Linked DNA regions of Homo sapiens: region 2 is linked to region 1. The links are contacts of gene promoters, found by promoter capture Hi-C in blood cells and fetal thymus (Javierre and others, 2016). All regions are on one chromosome and are shown on one strand. The core of a region is centred on a gene start or on the middle of the fragment in contact, and the rest is flanking DNA. Distances in the headings are between cores, read along the strand shown.

Region 1 (6,034 bases), core at 753-3,252:
GTGTTTCTAAACCTCTTTCTCACTACTGTCCCCACAATGCACCTTTTTAGAACTTTTTTCACAATCACCTCCCTTGTGCAATGTTAATACTTCAGATATACTGTGTATCTGTGTATCATGTGTAGATTTGTGCTTTCTACATAAAAAGAGGAAGATTTTACCCCTGTGGAGACTACATGCTCTGCCAAAACAGATCACTTAACAATCCATGAACATGCTCCAGTGTTTTCTAGCTTCCAAGCTTTTGTTCAGTCTGGCCATTAAAGAGGTTGAGGGAATATGAGAAGATTCCTAGACTGTACTTCTGCTATTCAGCACGCTGATCCCCTTGCCTAGAATAGACTCACACATCTCCTCCCACCACCCCCTATTTCTTCCTCTTGAAATCTGACTCTTCATGCAGCAACCTAAATACCGTATCCTCTCTCCATCCACTCAGTTGGCACTAACTTTTCTGTGTGCTCATGGAATTTTCTTTATTCCTCTATTATGTTCTTTTTTACATAGTCATCTTTCTATTTGTGTATCTCTCCCACTGGATTACAAACTTTCTAAAGACAAGGACTGTGTTGTTCACAGTGTGTGATGCCTTCATGTAATAGGCACCAGGATACGTTGGTTGAAATCAGTTCACTGATATACTGGAAACAGTGTAAAATCCCACCAGTGACCATATTGAAAAGTCCCATGTGTATGCTGAATAAATGAACACACTAGAAAAACTGGACACCATATACAAGACATACTCCCAAAACAGGATCATTAATACAGACACTATTTATAAAGGAGTTCTGTATTGTGTACACCATGGGTGAACAAAATTGGTTCCTGGTTCACACAAATAACAGACACCCACAGAAAGTTATCTGAATGGCTAGCTGCCTAGGCATGTTTTAAATAATGATGATCAAATGGGGTAGCCCAGAGAACAAAACACAAGTGGCAATTTTTGATATCATGTTCTTGTACAGATACAAAATTTTAATTGGGTTTATGTGCCATGAAAAGAAATGATATATGTAGAAGTACATTTTATATGTTAGTAATCATCACCACCATCTTCAAAATGACCAAATTAAGGCTATGGGGCAGGAAAGTCAATCTGACAGAGTTATTTTTGGGTAGGAAGTGAAGCCAAGATAAAAACATGTTTTCTGTAAAAGCCTTGATAATTAAAAAAAAAGTATATATGTGAATATCTTTATAAGTTTCTATTATTCTTCATTGCATTGTGGAACAATTGACTTTCTAGGAAAGCTATTTCTGTGGCTTCATAGGATTACCATTTGCTTTCACCAGAGGATTAGGTATTTTTAAATGGCATGTGTATTACTTCTCTGAGTTTATTAAGATGATAATAAAATCTTACAGAAAACTTCTAACAGGTGTTTTCTACAGTCCTTTGCTTCTGGGCTGTCTTCTCCTAAAATACCATAAACGGTTTTGTTTGTTTGTTTGTTTGTTTCTAAAGTCTAAGAATGACTTTTGTGGGACAGTGGAGGTGGGGGTGTCTGTGGGATGAGAGGCTTGGCAAATAATTCGTTTCCAAGGATACACTAATTTCCGCCCTTCAGCCAGGTTCATCCACAGTCAGTAGTGTAATTGAGTTTAGTTCTTCCTGGTCTTTCAGATAAGTAACCCTTTTGCCAGTTACAAACCCTACTTGCAATTCTATTTTCTATGGGCTCTTAATTATTGAAAGGGAGGATTAGTCATGAATCTCCTTTTTCACTCCTTTACTAATCAAGCTCAAGTTCTGCGAGCAAACAGCAACAGCAAAAGCAAATACTTTGGCGCCAACACTTAGCCTTGCCTCACTTAAGAGGCAGAATTATGTAGGCTTGTTTGCTTAACAACTCAGATAGGGGGCGGGGAGGGTGACCGGAGGGGACGAGGGAGGGGACGAGGGACGGGACGAGACGAGGGAGGGGACGAGGGAGGGGACAAGGGAGGGCCCGCCCCCTTGGAACGGGATTGGTTCCCTCTCTCCCTTTAGCCGTTCACTTTGCATCTCGGTTGGACAGGTTGAGAGAAACATGTCATTAAGGTATTGTCAATATGAGCCCTTCAGGTGTGGGCGTTCCCTAGGTTTGTGGTTTTAGACTTTCAAAGGGGCGGACTTATTATTGGCTGTGGGATCAAGTTCGTGAAACTGGTCTTGTACAGGTTGAAAAATGCCTTCCTAACAGGAGGCGCCAAGGAGCTTAAGTGTAACTCACACACAGTAAAGAAAATGACGAAAGTTCCTCCGGCGTTTGATTTCAGTTTCTTAAATGACGAAGAGGCCAGGAAGATCCTTCAGGTGCTGGAAAGGAATGAGGAGTTACAGAGGGCCGAGAAGGACAGGATCAGGTACAGAGCAAATTCATTTCTTTTGTCCTGGGCCTGGGTCCCGCAGGGGCCGGGGATCCGCGGGGAAGGCGCTGAGCTCGCGCGGGGCACCTGCCCGGGGGTGCTCCGAGCGGCTGCTGCGGAGGCTGCGGGTCGGGAAGAGAAAACTGCGCGGAGTTGCTCCCTGAAGGACTTTGGGATGCTTAGTTGGTACCCTCTCCACCCACCACATACCAGACGGGCTCGGCTGCGGGTCTGGGGTCGGGCAGGGTGGGGGGGTCCGTGCGCTGCGGGGGCCGCGCAGTGACGCTGTGCTGTGCCGGGTGTCTGCTGGGCCATCGCGGGGCGTGGGCCGTTTCAGGCAATGAAATGCGGCGGGGGCGCGATCTGGAGAGGAATCCTGGCTGCTGCTCACTCCGCGGCCCGCGCGCACCCACGTGCTCGCACGGGTCCGACAGAGCTTCCACCCTCGCCTAACGCAGTTTTCCCTCGGCACCAGAGGCGAATCTCCCCACCCAATGCGGGCAGTCAGCGAAGCACGGGAGAGCCGGCACCTCACGGGAGGCGAAAGGTCCCCACCCCAAGGGTAGGAGCTCGAGGAATTTGTCAAATAGAGGCTTATGTGGGCGAATGGGACTTGGACACACGGGGTTGGCTGGAATGGGTGGGTCTTCTTGTGCGTGGTGCTGTGGGGAGCGAGTTTCTGAGAAATTTCATCCTTGACCTTACTATACACTGTTGTAGGTGAGGGATTAGTTACTAAAGAATGAAATCCAGAGACACAGATAATTACCCAGGATGTACATTAACCAGTTTTTCTGCTGGGGAAGTGTGGGATAAGTGCTGGAATGAATTAAAGGGACTCTCTCGCCAATATTGGAATATATCCATCTAAGTCCTTCTCTAGATAACTGTGGAAGGGAATTCAGGACATCACTCTCAGACCACACTGTGTGCCATTGATTGGAATTTAGCAAGTCATTTTGTTTTATGATCAACTGCTTGCTAATGCGAGTTCCAGGTTCCCAATTCTTTCTAGAATTGCCTGTCCCCCACCGCCGACAAAAGAAACCCTCCAGGGACCCTCTTCAAATTGGAAAATCTAGTTGGTCTTTGTAGAAAGAATTAGAATACACTAAGCCCAATGCCCTGACTTCACCCTTCTCCCCTAAACATGACTCTTTGAGGGATGAAGGAATATTTGAGGTTGGGGAATATGGATTTCATACCATCTGCCTTGAGAAAAAGTGGCTTTATCATTCCCCTCCCCTGAACAGTGTAGAAAGTGTGCCTTCAGGAGAACAGTATGCCACACCCACACACACCCACGTGCATAATGTACCTACACATATGCACATGCACCGCACAAGGCACACCCAACTTTCAGAAGAAGAATTTCAGAACTGCACGGAATTTCAGTGCATATTCCAAAGGCACTAAGAAACTGCGGTTATTCTCAGTGTGTGTTATTGGAAATGTTTCTTGTCTCTGAAGAGGATGGGGCTTCTTAAGTGATCCATTGTATATTTGGGGAAATTGAGGGGAGAGTTAGAAAATAACAAGGAGAGAAGCTTTCATTTAAGATGTTATCTTGACTTTTTATTTTTGACCTGATGCTTGCTTGCCTTATTGTGTTTTCTCTATTGCAACTCACGATGCCCACTGCAGTTGACTTTAGAGGGAACTGGATCTCCACATAGATCTACACAAAGCACGTGTATCTACACAAAGCCATTGGGCTGGGCATTAGAAGGAAGGTCAAAACACATTTTCTAATTTCATGGCACTCATATTCTAATGGAAGCATCAACAGAAAAAGCCATAATGCTAAGACAAAATCGATACTGTATTATACTAATTATTAAAAGTATTTAATTGCCCAAACAATTTGAAAAATATCACCATTAAAATACAAAAATCATTTAAGGAAAGTAGATGTGTGGACCAAATACCCAAGGCAATGATTTCTAGTACTGTCTTTTCCTTTGATTAATTCCCCACTTCCACTATCAAATACCCATGTCTGGCTTGCAGGCTCCATGGGATTGTTCTGCTTACCCACTTCAGGCTCACATGTATTAATTTCAGTATCAGATATTGGCATGCAGAAAGGGCCTGAGACAACATGGCAACTTGGCTGCCTCTTCTGCTCATTTTCTTGATATGTGTGATCATATTTTCCAAATCAAAAATCAGGACACATGACTTATAACTCAAGAGTATAATTTCATTCTGTTCTGGCTTGGCATATGTGAACAACAACAAAAAAGAGATGCTTCAACAGGCCTGTCTGAGAGACTCAGGGAAGCCTTTTTACTGTATTGAGAAAGAGCTTCAAGACCTCTTGACTAGAACAATAAGGGTCCAAATGGGGAAGTTTAGAAATTTAGCAGGTTGGGGAATGGCTGATGAGTTCATTTATATCTATGATAGGCTTGAGGTATCTGCAAGACAACTAAGAAGAAATACAGGCACCCTATAGTTGGGGCTGGGCCCGGTGGCTCACGCCTGTAATCCCAGTGCTTTGGGAGACTGAGGCAAAAGGATCGCTTGAGGCCAAGAGTTTGAGACCAGCCTGACCAACACAGAGAGACCATGTCTCTACAATAAAAATTAAAAATAAATTTAGCCTGATATTGTGGCACATACTTGCAGTACTAGCTACTCAGGAGGCTCAGGTGGGAGGATCCCTTGAGCTCAAGAGTTCAAGGCTGCAGTGAACTATGATTGTTCCACTCCAACCAGAGTGACACAGTAGAGACCCTGTCTTTAAAAATAAAATAAATAAAATCATTTTTTTTTAAAAAAGAACTACAGTGTCATGCAGGGCCAGAGATGTTCTGAGATAGGTGTGAGGGTAGTTGAGTTCATCATGCAGAAGGCAGCAGCCCCACCCACAGAAAAGTTCCTGAACACATAGAACTTTCTCCTGATCTCCCCTCATCTGTACCAGACCTCTCTGGCTCCAACTTACCAGGAAAGTATTTGCATTAAATATAATAGTTAATGTTTCTAATATATAGTTTATTCAGATTTTTAAGAAAAACACCAAGATTCAAACTGATAAATAGGCAAAAGATAGAAATAAATCATTCACACCAGAAGATATCCAAACAGTAAACATAACAGATGGGAAAATGTCTACCCTCACAGTAATAAATGAAAATTGAAGTAACCTTGAGATACCATGCTGCCCCTTTAAAAATGACAGAAAAAAAAATGTTGGTGAGGGTTGGAATGAAATGGACAGATTTTGCACATTGTTAGTGACGTTGTAAGTTGATTACAAGCTTTTTGGTGAGCATTATGGCAATATCTATCAAGATACGCCTTACGCTTGACCCAATTGTCCAATTCTTGGATATTTCTCATTAGTAGGAGATTAAGGTGGAGGAGATGGCCACACCAACATATATTAAGTGCTGCCTTTTTATGTAATAATAGTAATTATTGTGGTAATAACGACAGCTAACATTTATTAGGCCCTTACTATATACTAGGCACTGTACTAAACATGTTATACAGATTTAATTAATCCTCCCAATAACCTCATTAGGTATACACTTTAATTCTCATTTCACAGAGAAGGAAACAATTAAAAAAGGTCGAGTATTTTGTCCAACTTAAGCAGCAGAGCCAGAATTTATAATCCAGATCTATTTCAAAACTACTTTACCCATCAAGATTGAATAATCCTCACAAC
Region 2 (6,212 bases), core at 465-2,964, 240 kb after region 1:
GCAAGATAATATAACTTTAGAGTTTAATTTCGACATTATTGAGGCATCCATGTTACCATGTATTATTTTTTTAAAATGTTACACATCATGCTTATTTTCTTATCATTTATTCTTACTGCAGAACCAATGGCAAACTGTAACAAATGACAACATGTATGAACAGAATTTGAAATCGGTAAAAGAAAAAAGAATGTATTTTTAACCTTGGGAATAGCACAGCCTTGGATTTAATTTTACCAACGTATTATTGGGACCTATTTCAGCAAACTCCTTGTAGCAAAATCTGTATTACCATCTGCAGTCCAAAGGAGATCTATAAAGATGCCTCGGTTCATAAAGGTGCACACAGGACCACCCTGATGGACTGTTACTCATCTTCCAAGGGATAAAGCCCCACCCTTATTGACCACAGGCTTAATGGTTAATGCCAATGAATTAAGACAGTTCTCATATCCTAGTTGAACAGTAGGAGAGATTTTTAAAAATGCACATATTCCTGCCCCATCTCTAGAAACCTGGTTTGAATTTGATCAGCATCAATGTTTTTTAAATGCAGTAAAAGTAATACTAACATGCAGCCAGTCCAACATAAATCAGGTTAAAGGAAGAAAAGCTGAGTAGTGGAAAAGTGGCAAGCCCATACTGCACTCTACCTGCCATGCTTCCCTGGGGAGGCCACACTCCTGATTTCTTGTCTCACATACCCTTACCAGATTGGTGAATGACTGGCATAGGTACTAACAGCACAGACACTGAAATTTGTTTGACTTCCTTTTTTCTGCCCTGGATCAAGACAAGGCAGTGATCCTGATTACATGTGTTTGCTCTGCAGGCCCAAACCCTATTCAGGTGAGCTGTCCCAAAGTTAAGACAGCAGAGAGGTACTGAGGTAGCACCAGCAGTAAACTAGTCTGGCCCTCATTCCTAAGCCATGTTCCTCTAGTAATGATGCTGACAATTTGATCTCCATTTGTCTGACTAATTAGTTCTGAACCTGAGCAGGGAAAAAGGAGATATAAATTTCTGATTTTTCTTAAACCCTAATGGAAACCATTCTGAAAATAATAATACCATATGGAATATCTAAATGTCAAAGAATTGATTTATGAATTGAAAACTAGAGACTACTTACAATGCTCTAACATTCCAAGAAACTCAAGGGGGCTGAAGGCATTTCTAAACCAGTATTTTTGGATGTGTGAAAAGGCTAAGTGCACAATCTCCTCCTTTCTGCTGCCCAGCCACATCCCCCTATGTTAAAATGAAGCAGTGCTCTTCACATCAGTGACTTCCTGATGAGATACACAGTCTACCTGGTAAGAAAAAAAATAAAGTCTTCCTTATAAAATACTTTACCTCTACAATGGTTAACAGAGTTTCCTGAGAGTTTCTCATCACTTCCATGGTTTTCTCACAGCATCTAGAGTCAAACACATTATAAATACGGATTTTGTTACACACCAATGTTGTCAACGTATCTTTATCTGTATACTCTCATGTGTAGTATGCTGAGCCTATGCTTAATAATCTACATATCTGTATCTCAAAATAGCATAATACTTGGCAGAGTGGGCTTTCATTAGACGTTTGAAATGAATACAAATATGTATTTGACTATTTCACAAGCTTGGCATTTACAAGAATAACACAACACTATTGATTACAGGCATGCACCACTGGGCTCAGCTCTCAGTCTTTGATTATTGTGGCAATTATTAGTTTACACTGACTGCAATCTGCCCCAATCCAAGTTGAGTACACAGACCTATGCTGGGAAAACTACAAGGAACTGCAAAGCTTTTTTAGTAGCACAATGTTATACTAGAACACAAGCTCCTATAAATAAAAATGTAGTCTCTTCTATATGCACAGTGATGAGCACCCAATAGTAGTTTGGATCATTAAGAAGGAGTCAGCCAGGATAGAGGTGTTAAAAGTAAAGGTGGGATGCTTCCAGAGGAGGTTTGGAATAACAGTATGTATGTTACATGGGCTTAGGTCCCAGGTGGGTGGAAGGAAGAGGAACTATTATTGCTTTTACCCAGGGTCTTTTCCTTAGTATTGATAAGGCACTGGAATACGATTCTAGCACTAAATTCTATAATCTATACAAATCTCTAACCCGTGTGTGTGTGTGTGTGTGTGTGTGTGTGTGTGTGTTTGTGTGTGTGTATTTTTTTAGATACAGGGTCTTGCTGTATTGCCTAGGCTGGACTCAAACTCCTGGGCTCAAACAATCCTCCCACTTCAGCCTCTTGAGCAGCTGGGATTACAGGTGCAAAGAACCATGCCCAGCCCATGTAATTTTGACATCAAAAATTATTTCCCTCCTTTACTTCATATCACTTACCTTCTGAAGACACCTTCAACACCCGTAATGCCCATGCCATCCACAATATCTCTGGTGAGTCTAAAAGGAACTGTCTCAGGAGTAGGAAGGATTTTGCCCTGTTCAAAAGCAACACCTAAAGTAAAGAATACAGTGAAGTTAGGAGGTTTGACAGCTAATTTACTTTCTTTCCAGTTAGAATGTGAACTTTACAAAGGCAAGAAACCACATGTTACCTACGTTCTATGAACACTAGTATGTACAGTAGTTTACTTCTGCTCTGGCTGCCTTCCTCATCTTTGTCACTGTCTGTGAGATCCACCTCAAATCCAAATAACCTAACTACTTCTTAACCCAACTAGAGAAATCTAGGTTAAAGGGTGATTTTTAAAAATGAAGTAACTACTGGTATAATTTAAAATGGAGATGATATATTTATATTTAAAAAATTTTTAGGCTGGGTGTGGTGGCTCCCGCCTGTAATCCCAGCACCTTGAGGCTGAGGAGGCCTGACACCTGAGGTCAGGAGTTAAGAGACCAGCCTGGCCAACATGGTGAAACCTTGTCTCCACTAAAAATACAAAAATTAGCTGGGTGTGGTAGCAGGTGCCTATAATCCCAGTTACTCGGGAGGCTGAGACAGGAGAATCACTTGAACCTGGGAGGTGAAGGATACATGGAGCTGAGATCGTGCCATTGCACTCCAGCCTGGGCGACAAGAGTGAAACTCCATCAAAAAAAAAAAATTAATGACATTTTATGAGATAATTATATGTTCACTTCGAGTTGTAAGAAATCATACAGAAAAGATCATCCCTTATGCCTTTTCCCCATTTCACCCCAACTGTAATGTCCTGCAAAACTATACTACTACTGACATCGATGCAGTCAAGATATATAATATTCCTATCATAAGGATCCTTCATACTGCCCTTTACGGCTGCACCTATTTCCCTCCCATAGCCTATCACCCAGCCCTCTGACCCCCTATTTTTCTAGCAGCCACTAATCTGTTCTCCATTTTTATAATTTTGTCATTTCAAGTATGTTATATAAATGGAAGTGGAATAATCATACAGTATGTAACCTTTTGGGAATAGCTTTTTACACTCAGCCTAATTCTCTGGAGATTCATCCAAATTGTTATGTATATCAATAGTTCTGTTTCTTTTCATTGCTGAGTAGTATTTCAGGGCATGGATGTAACACAGTTTGTTTAAGCATTTGCCCACTGTAGAACATCTGGATTTTTCCGGTTCTTGGCTATTATGAATAAAGCTGCTATACACATTTGTAGTACATGGCCATTTTATAAGTAGATTTTGTTGTTAAGTTTTGAGAGTTCTTAAAGATTGTTCTTTTGGTATCAAGTCTAGGAACTCTGTTTAGCCCTAGATGCTGAAGGTTTCCTCTTAATTTTCTTCCTCTGTTGCTCAGCTTGGGTAATTTCTACGGCTCTGTCTTCTATTCACTGATAATTTCTTCTGTCTCCTCATTCTGCAGTTGAAATTTTTTATTTTATTTACTATATTTTTCTGTTCTAAAATTTCCATCTGGTTCTCCTTTATATCTACTTCTATACTGAGACTACTTATTTCTGTGCTGAGACTTACTATATTTTAATTTGTTTCAAGCATGTTTGTAATTGTTCCTTCAGTGTTTTTATGATGGCTGCTTTAAAATCTTAGATAATTCCAACATCATTGTCATCTCAGTGTTGGCACCTACAGGTGGCCATTTTTCATTAAAGTTGAGATTTTCCTGGTTCCAGGTATGCCTAATGATTTTCAATTGACACCTACACCTTTTAGTTATTACGAGACTCAGGATCTTCCTTAAACTTCTGCCTTTAATGCCTTTGGGAGTCACCACCTTGTTACTGCTAGGTAAGGGCAGAAGACTAGATTCCCCAATTGGCCTCCACTGACACTCAATAGGGAAAGGGCTTGCTATAGCTGAGTAGGGCTGAAAGTCCAGGTTCCCCGGATATGTCCACTGACACCAAGGAGTGAGTCAGAAAAAAGGAAAAAAAGGTTAGAAAATATAGACTAGCAGGTAACAGTATAAATGATACATTGCAAAGGCCTAACATAGGGTTACTGGAGTCCCAGAAACAGGGAAGAACCAGGATGGACCCTATGACATGACTATGTGATGACATAATGTGATGGAAGTGATACTGTGCAAGTTGCAGGCCTAGCCCTTAACTTCCACTTCCTTCCCCTTGGAGCCCCAAGATGCTGAGTAGGTCCAGGACACTATTGTGGACAGAGAGGCCACATGGGAGTGCTGAAGCATCAGACATGTAAGTGAAGAAGCAATCATGAACTCTGGCCCAGCTGAGTCTTAAGATAACTCCAGCCCCAGATGCTAACTGCAGCTGCATGAGAGATCCTAAGTGAAAACTGTCCAGCTGAGCCCAGTCAACAGACTATGAGAGATAATAATAAATAAATTGTGATTTTAAGCTACTAAATTTTGGGGTGGTTTGTTATGCAGCAACAGGTAACCAAACAGACATACACAGAATAGTATACAAATCACCCAAGTGTGACTCACTGGGATTTCTGCAAAGTGAACAAATCCACGTTAACAGAACTCTACCAGCATTCCAGAGGCCCCCTTTCAGTCCCTCCTACCAGTCACTAATCACCTCTTTCAAAGGGTCACCACTATCCTGATTTCTAACACTATACATTAATTTTATCAGCTTTTGAATTTTATGTAAATGGAATTATACATGTGTACTCTTTTATGTTGGAATCTTTCACTTAGCATTATATTTGTGAGAGTCTTCTATATTGTGTGTTATTATTCATTCAATCTCATTATATACAAAGAGAATATAAATATACGACAATTTGTTCATCCATTCTACCTATGATGGATATCTGGATTGTTTCCAGTTAGGGGCTATTATGAATAATGCTACTATAAACATTTTTATACATATGTATGCATTTGTGTTGGAGTGGAATTGATGGGTCACAGGATATACATAAAGTCAGCTTTAGTGGATAATGCCAAACAATATTCCAAAGGGGTTGTACCAATTTACCCTTCTCATTTATAGATGCTTTTAGCACGACCTGAATGGACTCAGGTTGGCATACTCCTACCTCTAATTTGCATCTTCCAGACCACTCTCCTTTCATTCTCAGATAAAGTCTGGCTCCTCTGTTGAGATCCCCACCTTCTAGCTCTAACAAATCCCTTCCATCTTCACGTTTACTCTGTAAACCTGTAAGGTTTTCTCTCACATTCGCTGAATGTTGGCATGGACCTAGCTCACAATCTTCCCCTCTGTCCCAACTCTAGAATTCATTCTGGGGAAAACCATATAATATCCGTGACTGTCTCTGTTCTAATGGAATTCAATTTCATTCTATCTTAATGAACCACTCATATGGGTTGTACTCCAGAAATGAGTCTGCTAAAACTGCTTCTTAGACATTGTAAATTGTACATTCTAATCAAAACCTCTTCTCCTTCTACCCCTTATTCTTACTAAACAGTCTTCAAATTTGACTGAGATTTCTAGTTTATTAGCCCTCTTCTTTCCCTAACTCAGCCCAGGGGTAGAGACAATAAGTTTGATTACTCTCATCAGTGCTTCAAATCTCCTTGTCCCCTTGTCCCTCCACCACATCTCCCATTTTAAACTACAACTTAAGCTCCAAGGATGTTGAGGACTGCTGGAAAATCATACAACAACCCTATTGGCTCCACTACAAATTTAGGATTGAAAGTGCCCCTTAAACTGCTTGGCATGTCTTATTTATTTATCCCTTTCTAGTCAGGTCTTGGTCTCATTTCCATGGTAAATTTTAGAATTTTATTTGTTCTTTTAAGGCCAGTTACCATCCCTCCAATTCTTAGCAAA

Evidence for each region. The method cuts DNA at HindIII sites, captures the fragments that hold promoters and counts their contacts. A CHiCAGO score of 5 or more calls a contact.
Region 2: a fragment that was not itself captured here is called in contact with the fragment with the promoter of EXPH5 in region 1 in 5 of 17 cell types (naive CD4 T cells, naive CD8 T cells, non-activated CD4 T cells and 2 more); the score reaches 6.6 in naive CD4 T cells.

Annotation. Positions count from the first base shown.
Region 1 is chr11:108,589,736-108,595,769 of GRCh38, reverse strand. It overlaps EXPH5 (exophilin 5), which reads left to right and starts at 2,002. Exons shown (of 6, transcript NM_015065.3): 1 at 2,002-2,352. The coding sequence starts at 2,234. RefSeq lists silencers at 1,816-2,115, 2,136-2,185, 2,466-2,525. The HindIII fragment of the contact is 3,661 bases long and covers 244-3,904 here.
Region 2 is chr11:108,350,019-108,356,230 of GRCh38, reverse strand. ATM (ATM serine/threonine kinase) reads right to left here. Exons shown (of 63, transcript NM_000051.4): 60 at 2,351-2,465; 61 at 1,357-1,420. It also overlaps a transcript of C11orf65 not described here. Among named protein-coding and RNA genes, the nearest start is that of C11orf65, 110 kb to the left of the region's middle. The HindIII fragment of the contact is 171 bases long and covers 1,629-1,799 here.